Linked DNA regions of Homo sapiens: regions 2, 3 and 4 are each linked to region 1. The links are contacts of gene promoters, found by promoter capture Hi-C in blood cells and fetal thymus (Javierre and others, 2016). All regions are on one chromosome and are shown on one strand. Each heading gives the region's core, a stretch centred on a gene start or on the middle of the fragment in contact. The rest is flanking DNA. Distances are from core to core; before and after follow the strand shown.

Region 1 (2,734 bases), core at 69-2,568:
CTTGGTAGTCTAGTAGACAGATAAAAAAATATGTGTAAGAAAGCATTACATTTCTTACAATAGAAATGTTTTTTGTATGCATAAAGAAGGGGGTGGGCTGGAAAAAGAATGTAGTCAAGGTGACTTGCTCAATACTGAAACTGCTCATTAACTACTTAGGCCAGCACTTATGGCAGACTTGTCAGGATGCCTTGCTAATATTTTCCACTTCCAGTACAGAACAGAGATTACAGGTTTAAGCCAATTTTGTTCAACAGATGAGAAACCCAGTGTCCAAGGATGAAAGAATACTTGTTATACAAGGAATGTGAATATTCCAGAGATTTATGCTCAAAGTCCCCAGGTTAGTGTCTTTCTTTCTCACTAGACTGTAAGCTTCTTGAAGACAAATATCTTGAGTGTTACCTTGCTCACTCTTGAATTGTCAAAACTTGGCCCAGGACTAGGTATGTGGTATACAATCAATAAAAATTTGTTGAATGAATGTTCTTCAAAATCCTTCCATGGCAAAAACAGAAGAAACATTCACGAGTGGACTGCTAGTTGACTGTTTCTCTCATCGCTATTGACAGTCTGAAATGGACAAAGACATCTATATAATCATTCCTTCCTTTCAAATAAATAATCTGTGAATTACGCTATTCTTTTCCTATTGCTTCAGGACAAGCTATTTGACAGAAAGCTTTTAAGAAAGGCTTTGCAAGAAAACTCTGCAACAGAGATGGCACGTATGAATTGCTGTGATCTGGAGTTGAAGACAAGAACAAAAGTAACTCTAGAGCAGAATTCTTTGACCAAAGTCATCTTACTGGTTGGCGGAGGCTCTCAGTCTACTTGCATCCGGTGCTTGAGAGTTCAGACAGGCAAAGATGAGAGGTAGCATCTAGTCAACATCCATTTCTTGAGCACTTACTACATGTCAGCCACTTTGCTTAGTCCCCGGTTTTACTGTGCTCTGCTAGGAAGTGGTGAAGAGATTCGGCGGGATCTTCTTAGGACCAATCCTACAAAGTTCCAGATGGAACTCATTTTGATTTGGGGGACGGTTTACTTGCAGGGATTAGGTGGAGAAACAGGGCCTGCTACTCAAGAGGAATGAGAAACTGTAACTAACAGGAGGTAGACTGGGAAGGAGCATGGCAAAGTCACCCCTTTTCACAGGGCAACGCTCCAAAGACCACGCTCAAGCTGGGGTGGCAGGGCTCTGAACATGGGGCCCCGACCCGGGCCTCGGCCTGGGGCCACGTGACGCGCGTGTTTACGTTGAGTGACGGGCGCTGTGTTGGGCGGGCCTTGGCGGAAATCAACTTCCGGGGGCAGAGGTGTTCGAAGCCGGGTGGTGCGTGGGCTACCCCAACCTGTGTGGCTGGGCCGCGGTCTCCCCTCAAGGGCCTGGGGCCGTGCCTCGGGTGTACGCGTAGGGGTCTGTGTGCTGGGGGTGGCTCACCGGGCAGCGTGGGTGAGCGGCGCAGCGGCGGCAGCGGAGAGCGAGAGAGGGGAGCAGGTAAGTGAACGCTCGCCTTCCGGGGCCTGGGTCTTGGGGTCGGGGCCGCGCGAGGCGAGCGGAGAGCGCCCCACCGGGGGAGGAGCGCGGACGAGCTTCCGCCGCCTGCAGCCCGCCTGCTGCGGCCTCGCCCTTGGCTGTCGCAGCGACCAGGAGTCAGGGGGCGTGACCAACCTCCTGCGGGAACGGAGCCAGCTCCCGGGGGTGGGAGTGCCCACTCGTTCCTGCGCTCGCCGGTGGGTACCGGTATCTGCACGTCCCAGAATCGAGTGTTTTCGAAAGTCTACGCCCACGAACACGTGATTATTGTGTCACCGAAGCGCCTACCGAACGGAGACCTTGATTCTTGCTTAGATTACACAGAACGCGCCTGGTTTATGTATCCCCTTTTACTTTGCCAAGTACATTGGGGTAAAAGCTCTACAGCGTCTGCCAGCCACATTTCCTTAGAGTTTCTTGGGCCACATGTTGCAATAAAAGTGGCATTTCAGGGTCAAGGCAGGAGCCAGTAACTTTGCCAAGTGGTGAGGTATCCTTCGTCCCCGTTAGCACGCCTCCCTTTCCCAACAATAAAGATATTTTCTCCATCTGCGCGTGTCGCCTACTGCGGAGGAAAGCTTTGGACATGAAACCTATTTTTGGCTTCACTTTAAGGAGTGGAACTCTATTAAAAGCTGCGCTGGTGTTTTTTTGGTAGGATGATGTTGCTGCTGCTACTCTCACTTGCTTCCTTGATGAGAGTTGGGGCAGAGCTCGATTTCCTGGAGGGTAAAGTCTTGGCCACAATTTTAGGTGACTCAGCGGCCCCTTATGAATTCTGACTCTTTCCTTCCCTCCCCTCTCAGCTGTGCGGATACTGATGCCACCTTTCTCTCCAAATATTAATCCGGGTGGGAGTTGGATGATGGTTTTTGGAAGCAGTTTGCATGTTGCGTGGTGGAGTTATTGGAGTGGGCTGACATTTTACTTCACAATTTAAGGCAACCCTTCCCCCCCCCACAATATTTAGTTGGGTGGGGTGACAGGGACTGACAACAAATTCGCTGTTGTGTTCCCTGCTGTCGGAGAGTTCTACACTTAATGATCACCTGATTGCCCTCTGCTACAATTTCTATTGCGTTGAGGGGATTGGTTATACTGTCTGTACCTATTAGGTAAATGTAGTAAGGGTCATGCCAGGCAGAGTGCACCTGCATGGTGTTGGCTAACCAGTAAACTGTGTGGTAGAGA
Region 2 (2,937 bases), core at 58-2,557, 1.2 Mb before region 1:
TGGCTCCCACAGGTGAATTTGAAGTGGCAATAGAACTTCGTTGATTCTTGTTTTTCTCATTTTAGTTTTACTCTCTATTAAATTGTTATTTTTTACAGTTCATTTATGGATGACAAGTTATTTCCTGTTGGTAGCTGCAATGATTGGGAATTTTGTGATCTCTGTAAACGAATTAATATCTCATAGAGATCTATTTCCTGTTGGATATGAGACAACAGAGAACACAGTTTTTGTCCATTTGTCTTTTTTAAGGTCAAATCGATTAGAAATTTCTTGCCCTCAAGTAAGGAGAACAACTCTGATACCTGGACTGGCAAGCTTTTGTGTTTCTGTGTTTATTTTTCATTTGTGGCTGAACTTGTAGAATTGAGGGTATACACATTCTATCTGTATGTCTATGTATCTGTAATTCAGAAAGTCCTTTATTTCTCATTGTGAGTATGGAATGTTTTCCTGTCTCCAGATGGTATTAATAAATTAGATGGTAAAGGCTCTTTAAAAATAAAGCCTCATTATGGGTTCATTTTCCCTCTCAAACTCTGTAGAACATAACCAGTTTGAAAAGCCTCTAGATTTGGGGGTGTAAAAATTCCATGCAGCTTGAGAGCCATCAGTCATTAAGCCGCTAGTTCCACCCCAAGTCTTGCTGTCCAGAAGCTCAGACAGTCCACTGGGCAGCAAAGAGGCGCTTTAGTAAGTTGAATTAAAGCCACAAACATGGCTGCTCCCTAAGGGAGATAATACTGTGTTAAAAAAAGAGAATTATTTATCTCTTCCCATTTCCTCCGCTAAATGAGGAGGTTAATAGTAAGACCTCCTTAGCCATGAGTGTTTCCGCTGCAGGAAACACCATTCGTGCCGGTTCTGGACTCACCACCCAGCGTGTACCAACGCCCCCAGCACCATCTCCCTGCTAGGCTGACAGACCCCTGGCGGATTTTGACCTCGCAAGAAATGCAAAAGCAACTTTGGGTTGCAGAAGCCAGGCGCCCCGACCTTACCCTCGCTGGAATTCCCGAAGACCTCGGCTGCACCAGCCACCCGGTGTTCGGATGCCAGCACCGCTACGACCAGCAGCTGCAGGAACCCCATTGCTGCCTGGGCCGGGCTGGGCCCACGCCAGGGCTGGGGAGAGGTGCGGGCGTGCGCGCCGGGGCCCCGCAGCCTCGCCCACGCTATCCCGGGGCGCCCGCATCGGGCGCCATCGCCCGCCAGGTGCAGACGCTTCGCACCTGCCAGCTCCGCAGCCGCCGGCGCGCGCCCCGCCGAACTCCTAGCCCCAGCGAGAGGTTTCCTCTTCCGGCACCTGACCCCCAACGCGCGTTCCCGCGCCTCCTCCCGGGCTCTCGCTGCGTCACAGCGGCGGGTCTCTGGGCGCGGGCGGCGCTGGGGCGTTTCCAGGCAGCGCGCGCCTCCTGCCGGCGCGCGGGGAACGCGCAGCCTGCGGTGCTCCCGGGAGCCCCCAGGAAGTCCTGGCTTGAGGCCCGGTCTTGCCCCACTTTTATCTCACCAAGTAGGCAAACCCACTGTGAAAGTACAAAATAACTTTCTGTTGCGGACTAACGTCGCCAGGCTCCTGTTTCCGTGTTTAACGGCCCTTTACAACAGCAAAAAAGAGGAATCAGTTGCTAAAAACACAATTGAAGGTTATTTCCCCCGGTAGCAATTGTCTTCGCTGCTGAGGCTTATGTTAGCATAAAAATGCCAGGAGAATGCTGTTTGTGTAGTGGTTACCGCACTAGTCATAAGCACTACATTTAAAAGTAGTTTCGTTTTCTCTAAGCGAAATATCCTCGAAGACACGGCCTTGGTCTGAACTTCGTCTCAAGTCTCATACCTGAGTGCTGTTTGAGGGACAGTAGTCCATGTGACAGATGGCTCATCGATGATGTGGAATTAGACGCATAGACTTAACGTTATTTGGGGAGGATTGTCTTGCTTTCCTTCCCTGGTTTTAATTTTTTTCACTTATATATTTTGATGAGCAACTTATAGCTTGGAAATTACATGTTCAGTTAGTCCACTACTAAGCTAACAATATATAGCTGTGACCATAATGTGAAGAAGTGTTAAAGACAAAATTATTCAATGATACTTGTTAAAGCACCGAACGAAGACTATTGAGGACTGTCTCAATTGGCATAGGGACCACTGCAACTGGGTCTTGCAGTGGGGAAGAGGGACTGGGCTCAACTCCGAATACAGCGTGGGCAAGAGGGAATTTATAGCCAACCAGCAGTATGGAGTTCAGTGGATGGAAAATTACTAAGAGGAAGCATCAGAGGTAAGGGGCATTTGGTGAAACTGACCTAACAGGACTTCTGAAGACATAACATCACCTGGGGGATGGTGCAGGGTGAGAAAACTGATTAGATATGGAGGAAAGGGGGTTCTTTGCTAAAACTGGATTTTTACAAAGAAGTGCACAGATGGACCTAGCAGAAGATTCAGAAGCCGTACTAGAGTTTGGCCAAGCAAATAATCTTTGTCATAGGCACAATTCTTTCTCTGCTTTCCCACTGCCTGGTCCAAATTTTCACACCTTTGGTAGCACTATCTATTTCTGTAGTGCTTATTCACTCTCCCACATGCCCCTATTCCTATAACCCTCAGTAGATGAAATCCAAGGAAGATGAAAGGGACAATTATGATAAGGGTAGCATCTGAATCAGTGGATGGATTATTCAATAAATTGTGTTCTTAACTGATTAGCTGCACTATGGGCAGAGAGAAGCAGAACTCTATCTCACACTAATTGTGAAAACAAAATCCCAAAGTAATAAAACCATAAAAGAGCTAGCAGAAGAGGGCGCTCTTTTTTTTTTTTAATAAATTGATCTCAAAATGGGAGGAGCTTTCTAAGAAGCAAAACAGCAAAGGAAACAACCATAAAGGAAAAGATTGGTAGACTTGGCTACGTAAATGCTTTTTACATAA
Region 3 (3,203 bases), core at 179-2,678, 1.3 Mb before region 1:
ACCAGTGCATGCATTTTTGGTTTTGCTTTTAAAATGAACTTAAAATTGTCAGAGGGAAACATTTTGACATTTAATTGTATTTGATTCCCTTACATATACGAAACATAAGTGACAAAGACTCTTGAAATACAACTTTATGATCCTTGCTAATTGACATTAGTCACATATAAACCCCAAGCCAGCATTTTTGCACTTCCCTCCAAGAAAAACGTTTGAAGGGGGACTGGCGGGTAGGGGTGCGGAATTAACAGGAAAGAGGAGTGACAGCAAAAGAAAAGGCCAAAACAAAGATAAACATCTCCTAAGATAACCGCACATCAGGTCTTCGCCTTAGGATAAGGACCCCAACTTCACACTCTCCCCTTAGCTTTTGAAACATCACAGTAATTTACCAGGTAGAGCAGAAAAACTTAGTTGTTACCATCACACTGGTGTGTAGAAGGAAATTTAAAACTTTTAAAACTTTTTCTTATTAAAACAGAGCATACGGTACTCCCCTGCTTCGCTAACAAAATCTTATACTGAATAGACAATCCACATTCGAAAAGCACATGGCAAGCAAAGCCAAAGTGTTAAATCAAAACGAACTGATTTCTTACGATCCAGCTATTTTCACCTCTTGCTTTCAAGACGCATCTCCCCTTCATGCAAAACTCTCTTTGAGAAACCTTCTAGACCCACTTTGCTGGAGGGTGGGGGGTGGAAAATACAAGGTGAGTGGATAGGGAAGACCTCAGGATCGAGGTTCGCTTACTTTCGTGCCTGGTCCTGCAGTGAAAACGAACAGAGGCTATGGACCACAGCCTCTCTGGAAAAGGCTGCTGGCTGGGCGGGGAGAGTCAGCGCACAGTCGGGAGTGTCTGGTGCCACAGACAGGGGACTATGCTTTCCCCGATCATCTCCTAGCACACCGGTCCTTCCCAGGCTTCCTAAGAGCAGGAGCGCGCGTGCGCGTGCACACACACACACGCACTCGGGCTCGCGCGTGCGCACAGCGCTCTCCGATAGCCCGGCCAAGCCTCCCTTCCCCCTCGTAGGGCCAGGCGTCCCAGTCGCCGAACAGGAAGAGGGCGGGGCCAAGGAGGAAAAAAAAAGCCTCCACCCCTCGAGATTTTCCACCCGCTAATTTTCCCAGTCACCCATTGGGAAGCAGGATCTGGGCGACCTGAAAGCCTCCCCAACAGCGAAGTACCAACCACGGCCCCCTAAGCGTACGACCCACCCACCCGGTCTCCCCTTCTCTGTCTCTCCACCCAGGCCGGTTTCCCCTGGAAAAACTCGCGAGACTTTGCGAGAGGCCGAGCGAAAGCCTGGGAAGGGAGGAATAGGGAGGGACATAGAAGGGCCCCGCCCTGCCTTCTGGGGCAAAGCGGAGAGTGGTCGGTTCTGCCCCACAGTAACGCGAGGAAAGAAATCTCGCGAGGCTGGAGTTCTCCGGGAGCGCCGGTCGGAGGCGGTCGGCGGAGGTGTCTACCCCGCCGGTGATGGCGTTGAACGCCACTGGCTTCCCGGCCTTCCGTCCGCTGCCTCCGTCCGATTCTGCGTCTGCTTGCTGAGGAGGCGGATTAGGGGGGCGCGGAGTCTCTTCCCTTGAGTGCATAGGTCCCGGTTGGTAGAGGGTTTGAGTCCGCATCGCCACAGCTGAAGGCTGCGAGGGACTAAGAGCAGAGTAAGTGGACTAAATCCAGGGACGGGAGCAGGGGTGGGCGAGTCGGAGGCGTCCTTTGCCGGGGCAGTCCTTCGCCGGGGCCGGTGCCTTGCGCCTCTTGAACCACCGGCGCCCGGCCCTGTCCGCTTCCCGCCGCGGGCTCCCTGCTCCTGGGAGCCGGACTTCCTCTCCGCGCCCCCCGACTCCGAGCTCCTCTTAATGGAGATGCGGTGCGGAAAGTTCAATGAAAAGCCTTGGCTCTAACCCTGTGGACACACCTTCCGTATCTGCTTTCATCCTGCCTTACCCACCTGCGAGTTCACCACCGGACGGGGGACCCTTTCAGTCACCTGTTTGCAGCGTTTAATGAAGATAACTTGTTTCTTGAAACTGCTCTCCAAGGGGTATTACTCTTTTCTGGTTCTCTTCCTGCCTTTCTTCTCTATCCCATCTCTGATAATGGTTCCAGTATCTGTCCTGCTATCCGAACTAGAAAACCAGGAATCATCATTGGTTCTTCATTTCCACTTAACACTGCACTGTATTATTTTTTTTTTCGCCAGAATTAGTGCGGTTGCCCCCTCTGCCCCCCGCCCTCCACTGGTTTCCCTACTATAATCCTTCCATAGAGTTATTCTGAAATACATATTTATCTCTGTCCTTTCCTTAAACTTTTTAGTAACCGTATTGCTGACAGCATCAAATCCTAATTGTTAAGCACATCATCATTCAGGATCTTTTACAGTCTGCCCCAATCCATTTTACCTTTTAGTCCTGCTTTAATATCCTACCATACAAGACTATACTGGCTATTTCCCCAAACATGCCATGCGCTTTGACAGCTCTGTACTTTTGTACGTGCGGATGTCTAGGATGTTTACTGTTCCTCTATTTTACCACCTGTCAAAACCCAATTCATAAATCATTGTCTTCTCAGACTCCCCCAGGTGACATTGATACCGCTGTGCTCCCAACGCATTTGAAACTTTTCTTCTGCAGTATTTATTAGGTTGTATTATTTGTTTCTGTCTCTCCTGCCAATTTGAACCTGGGTCTGTCTGGAATCATGTCTTACTCATCTCTGAGAAAAAGTCCAGTACTTGGCACATAGCAAGCATTATTTATATATACATATGTATGTTTATTGAAATGGAATAGTTCTAAGGAATTCACCGTAAGAGTTCTTCATCCTTTAAAATCATAGAATTTTGGGCCAGAAGGAACTCTGTACATTAGCTTAAAGGTCCCGACCTATTTTGATTATGAGAAACCCTGTACTTCTAATACACATGCAATTGGACTTTTAGTAATTGTTGGTTGAAATTATGTATAATGACAGAAAACTACTATGCTTTTAAATGATTTTGTATTTTATTTTTACAGTATCTATTTATATTTGAGAAATGGAGCAGAAATGTTTTAGACTACAGACAGTGCTTGGAGTATGTGCATTCAGGCAACTCTTCTACTGACTCCTTAGCCTGTAGGTTAGAAATAACTGGTTTAGATTAGGTTAGTTCCTTCTTGAACTGTCACAACTCTTTGAACATATGTA
Region 4 (3,093 bases), core at 260-2,759, 1.2 Mb after region 1:
TTTCCTCTGCCATTAAAATCAACCAACTAAACTTCCCTTGCTGGTTCCACACTCACAAAGCAGCCTTCGAATTATGATTTTTTTCCCATGCACTTAGTATTCGAAAGAAAAAAATAGATGTCATAGACAAAACAGATGACAGTTTTCTGACCCCCACGTCAGTTATAAAACTGGTATTCCCATCGATAAATTAAGCTTCTGAATGTTTGTTATGTATATGCCATGCCCGCTAAACTTGTTTAGCTCTGATAATCAAATTTATTTTCTGTACCTTTTTAGTAGTAACTGCACAAAAACTGACCCTTTTTCAATCTTTCAATTTCTACTCTTTCTGATTTGAGTAAAATATTAAATATCTGTATGTCTCTTCTCTTTAAAACAGAACTCTCCCTTAAACTCAAGTCCAACTCCAACAATACATCTCTCGCAGCACACCTACAGCCAACTTAAAAGAATGAGTTGTCCCCATTCATCTACTGTGACTACTTCCTCACCCAACTCTCACCTCTTAACTAAATTTGCTCTGAGCAAGGTAATTAACTTCCTTAGTACTGACAGACACTCCTCAGTCCTTATCTAACTGCACCTCTGAGAAAACACACTGCTTATCACTTCTTTTTCTTCTCGAAACATTCTCTTACCTTGACTTAAGTGATATCACATCCCCAATTTTCATTCTACCTGGAAAACCCTCTTTGGCTTACTGTGCAAATTCATCTTTCTCTCAAGATTCTGCACTAGGTCTCCCCCTTAACCTCCACACCTTCCCCAAATGATCGCCCACTCCTTCCATTTCAATCTGCATGTTGATTTATCCCAAATCTTGATTCTCTGCCCAGATCTCTCTGCAGATATGTATAACCCCTTGCCTTCTGTTACCTTTTCATTTGGACATTCCAAACACAATTCAGACTCAACAAGTCCAAAAATGAATACTTCACCCTGTAAAAATTGTTCCTCCTGTATCTATCTTAATGATAACACCATAAGCCCAACTACACAAGCCAGAAACATGGGTTATATCTTTAGACTTAAGCTATTTCTAAATTTCTCTTAAATCTGCCTGTCTTCTCTTCTTCAGGCCTACTGAGAAATTCCTTATGTCCAAGTATGTTCCTAGTCCCAACTGCCACAATCTATCACTACATTGCTTCAACAACCTCTAATCTTCAACCTTCCAATTCTCTCTCTATACTGTAATAATAAATTATCTTTTTAATACATAAATCTGATATTTCTCTTCAAATCTTTGTAAAACTTCCCTTCCCACTACACTTAAGAGCTTGGATTCTATCCTAACATGTTTTACAAAGCCCTTCAAAAACCAGGTCCTGCTAACCTCTCTTCAAACCCAATCACTCACAGTCTACGTTCCAACCATATTAAATCACTTTCAATTCCTTAAATATCCTATTCTCTTTGCCAGAAATATTTTTTCTTCCCCCTACCGCATCTCTACATTTGACTAACTCCTACTTACTCTTCAAGGTCCAGTCTACTCATCTCTACCTTGAGCAAGCAGGGGGAACAAAAAAACTTTCCATGGCCTTCAAAGTCTATCTGCTTCTAGAACGTTGTACCTTTATCACACTATTTCTAATTGCCTCTTTTTCTGTTTCCTCCACCGGATTGTTAGAGCAGGAACCATGTCTAACTTGATCTTTGTATCTCCAATGCCTAGCGAACAGGTATTCAATATTTATTGAGAAAAGGAAGGAAGGAAATTTTCCCAGAAACACCACAGTAGCACATCTTTCAAATCACAGCAGTATGTCATACTTAGGTAAGTAAATATATAAAAATAAGATCCACAAGAAGGATTTTCCTGTTGTCTACTGTCCCAGGACCTAGAACAGTGGCCATCACATAGTCAGTATAGCACTGTTAAACAAATGAATAAAACAGTGAATTACATTTCTAAAAGTTTATATAAATGTTATATTTGTATAATGAGCTTTCTAAATGCTCTTTTAATTTATATATAAGCATAAAGATACGGCAAGCAGTTAGTTTTACAAATCTCCTAATAATACATACAACCTATTCAACACTCCTCCCTTGAAAGTCTAGCTGGAATATATCATGTGGCTCCCTACCCATCTCTAGCTTCCTCCATCCCTGTTTTCCAGGGGATATCACTCTAGAATGGAGCACCTCGCCCCTCAGCTACTCCACCAGTCCCATTCCTGAAAGCTCAGCACTAACCTACCTCCAAGAAATTCATTCCATTTTGCATACTTGCCAACCTACTGTAAAAGTCACTGTCTGGCATAAACAAGGTATCCAATAACTTCTAGCTTTTCTAAAAGAAATTGCTGTCTGCTCTCTTTATAAAACCTGACTTTCTATTGGCAGCAGTTCCATTCCAATCCTTAGTCATTTCTGAGACTCACAGGTTACAGAAGTATCATGTTTTACCATATTTCTCAACCATCTCTCATGTTTTGTGCTATGTATTATTTGAAGCTCTTTAAACATTAATTCATTTAATCTTGTAAATGACTCTATGAAGCAGCAGGTACTATTTTTAATCCTACTTTTTGATGAGGAAATGAGGCACAGAACTGTCAAATAATTTTCCCAGGCTACATAGCAGGTGGTAGAACTTGAAACTATGCTCCAAACCACAGTACACACTGATTCTCACTTCCGTACTTGTTGCTATATTCCACTAACATCTGAATATATTCATAATTTGCTTAATGACTTCAGCACCCAGATCATTCAATATGCTTCTCCCCCACTCCATTATCATCCTTTGGAATTCATGCTCTGATGGCATTTATCCTATAGCATTCATTCACAATAAAACCTTTTTACCATGTAAGCTTAACAGCGCTTCTCCTCCTGTGACCTCCATCTTAATTCTATGGAAAGCCACCCATGAGCAAGGTCAACCCTTAAAACTGTTCCACCTCTAAAATCCAAAACACATTTACCTCCCCAAGTAGGAACTACCCTTCAAGCTCTTTCCTAAGATAAATCTGCTCTTCATTTTCACTGGTGTTCTCAAATCCTTTAAATCCTACCAGATACCCAATTTCATTGCTCCATTCCCACTCTATTTGCCTCTCTACTCAGTGTGGTAAGCCA

The links. The method cuts DNA at HindIII sites, captures the fragments that hold promoters and counts their contacts. A CHiCAGO score of 5 or more calls a contact.
Region 2: the fragment with the promoter of TM7SF3 here is called in contact with the fragment with the promoter of CCDC91 in region 1 in 1 of 17 cell types (naive CD4 T cells); the score reaches 5.3 in naive CD4 T cells.
Region 3: the fragment with the promoter of FGFR1OP2 here is called in contact with the fragment with the promoter of CCDC91 in region 1 in 1 of 17 cell types (non-activated CD4 T cells); the score reaches 5.4 in non-activated CD4 T cells.
Region 4: a fragment that was not itself captured here is called in contact with the fragment with the promoter of CCDC91 in region 1 in 2 of 17 cell types (naive B cells and non-activated CD4 T cells); the score reaches 8.3 in naive B cells.

The regions. Positions count from the first base shown.
Region 1 is chr12:28,189,138-28,191,871 of GRCh38, forward strand. It overlaps CCDC91 (coiled-coil domain containing 91), which reads left to right and starts at 1,319. Exons shown (of 13, transcript NM_018318.5): 1 at 1,319-1,504. LOC729291 (a long non-coding RNA gene) reads right to left here and starts at 1,601. Exons shown (of 1, transcript NR_148936.1): 1 at 1-1,601. RefSeq lists silencers at 1,286-1,335, 1,366-1,795, 2,479-2,734. The HindIII fragment of the contact is 1,439 bases long and covers 681-2,119 here.
Region 2 is chr12:27,013,077-27,016,013 of GRCh38, forward strand. It overlaps TM7SF3 (transmembrane 7 superfamily member 3), which reads right to left and starts at 1,308. Exons shown (of 12, transcript NM_016551.3): 1 at 1,002-1,308. The coding sequence starts at 1,092. RefSeq lists a silencer at 1,001-1,500. The HindIII fragment of the contact is 5,016 bases long and covers 317-2,937 here.
Region 3 is chr12:26,937,042-26,940,244 of GRCh38, forward strand. It overlaps FGFR1OP2 (FGFR1 oncogene partner 2), which reads left to right and starts at 1,429. Exons shown (of 7, transcript NM_015633.3): 1 at 1,429-1,669. INTS13 (integrator complex subunit 13) reads right to left here and starts at 940. Exons shown (of 17, transcript NM_018164.3): 1 at 755-940. RefSeq lists enhancers at 1,245-1,754, 1,483-1,532, 1,755-2,263 and a silencer at 1,793-1,862. The HindIII fragment of the contact is 20,390 bases long and covers 1-3,203 here.
Region 4 is chr12:29,373,666-29,376,758 of GRCh38, forward strand. The region is part of intron 1 of ERGIC2 (ERGIC and golgi 2); the gene reads right to left. Among named protein-coding and RNA genes, the nearest start is that of ERGIC2, 6.0 kb to the right of the region's middle. The HindIII fragment of the contact is 2,633 bases long and covers 194-2,826 here.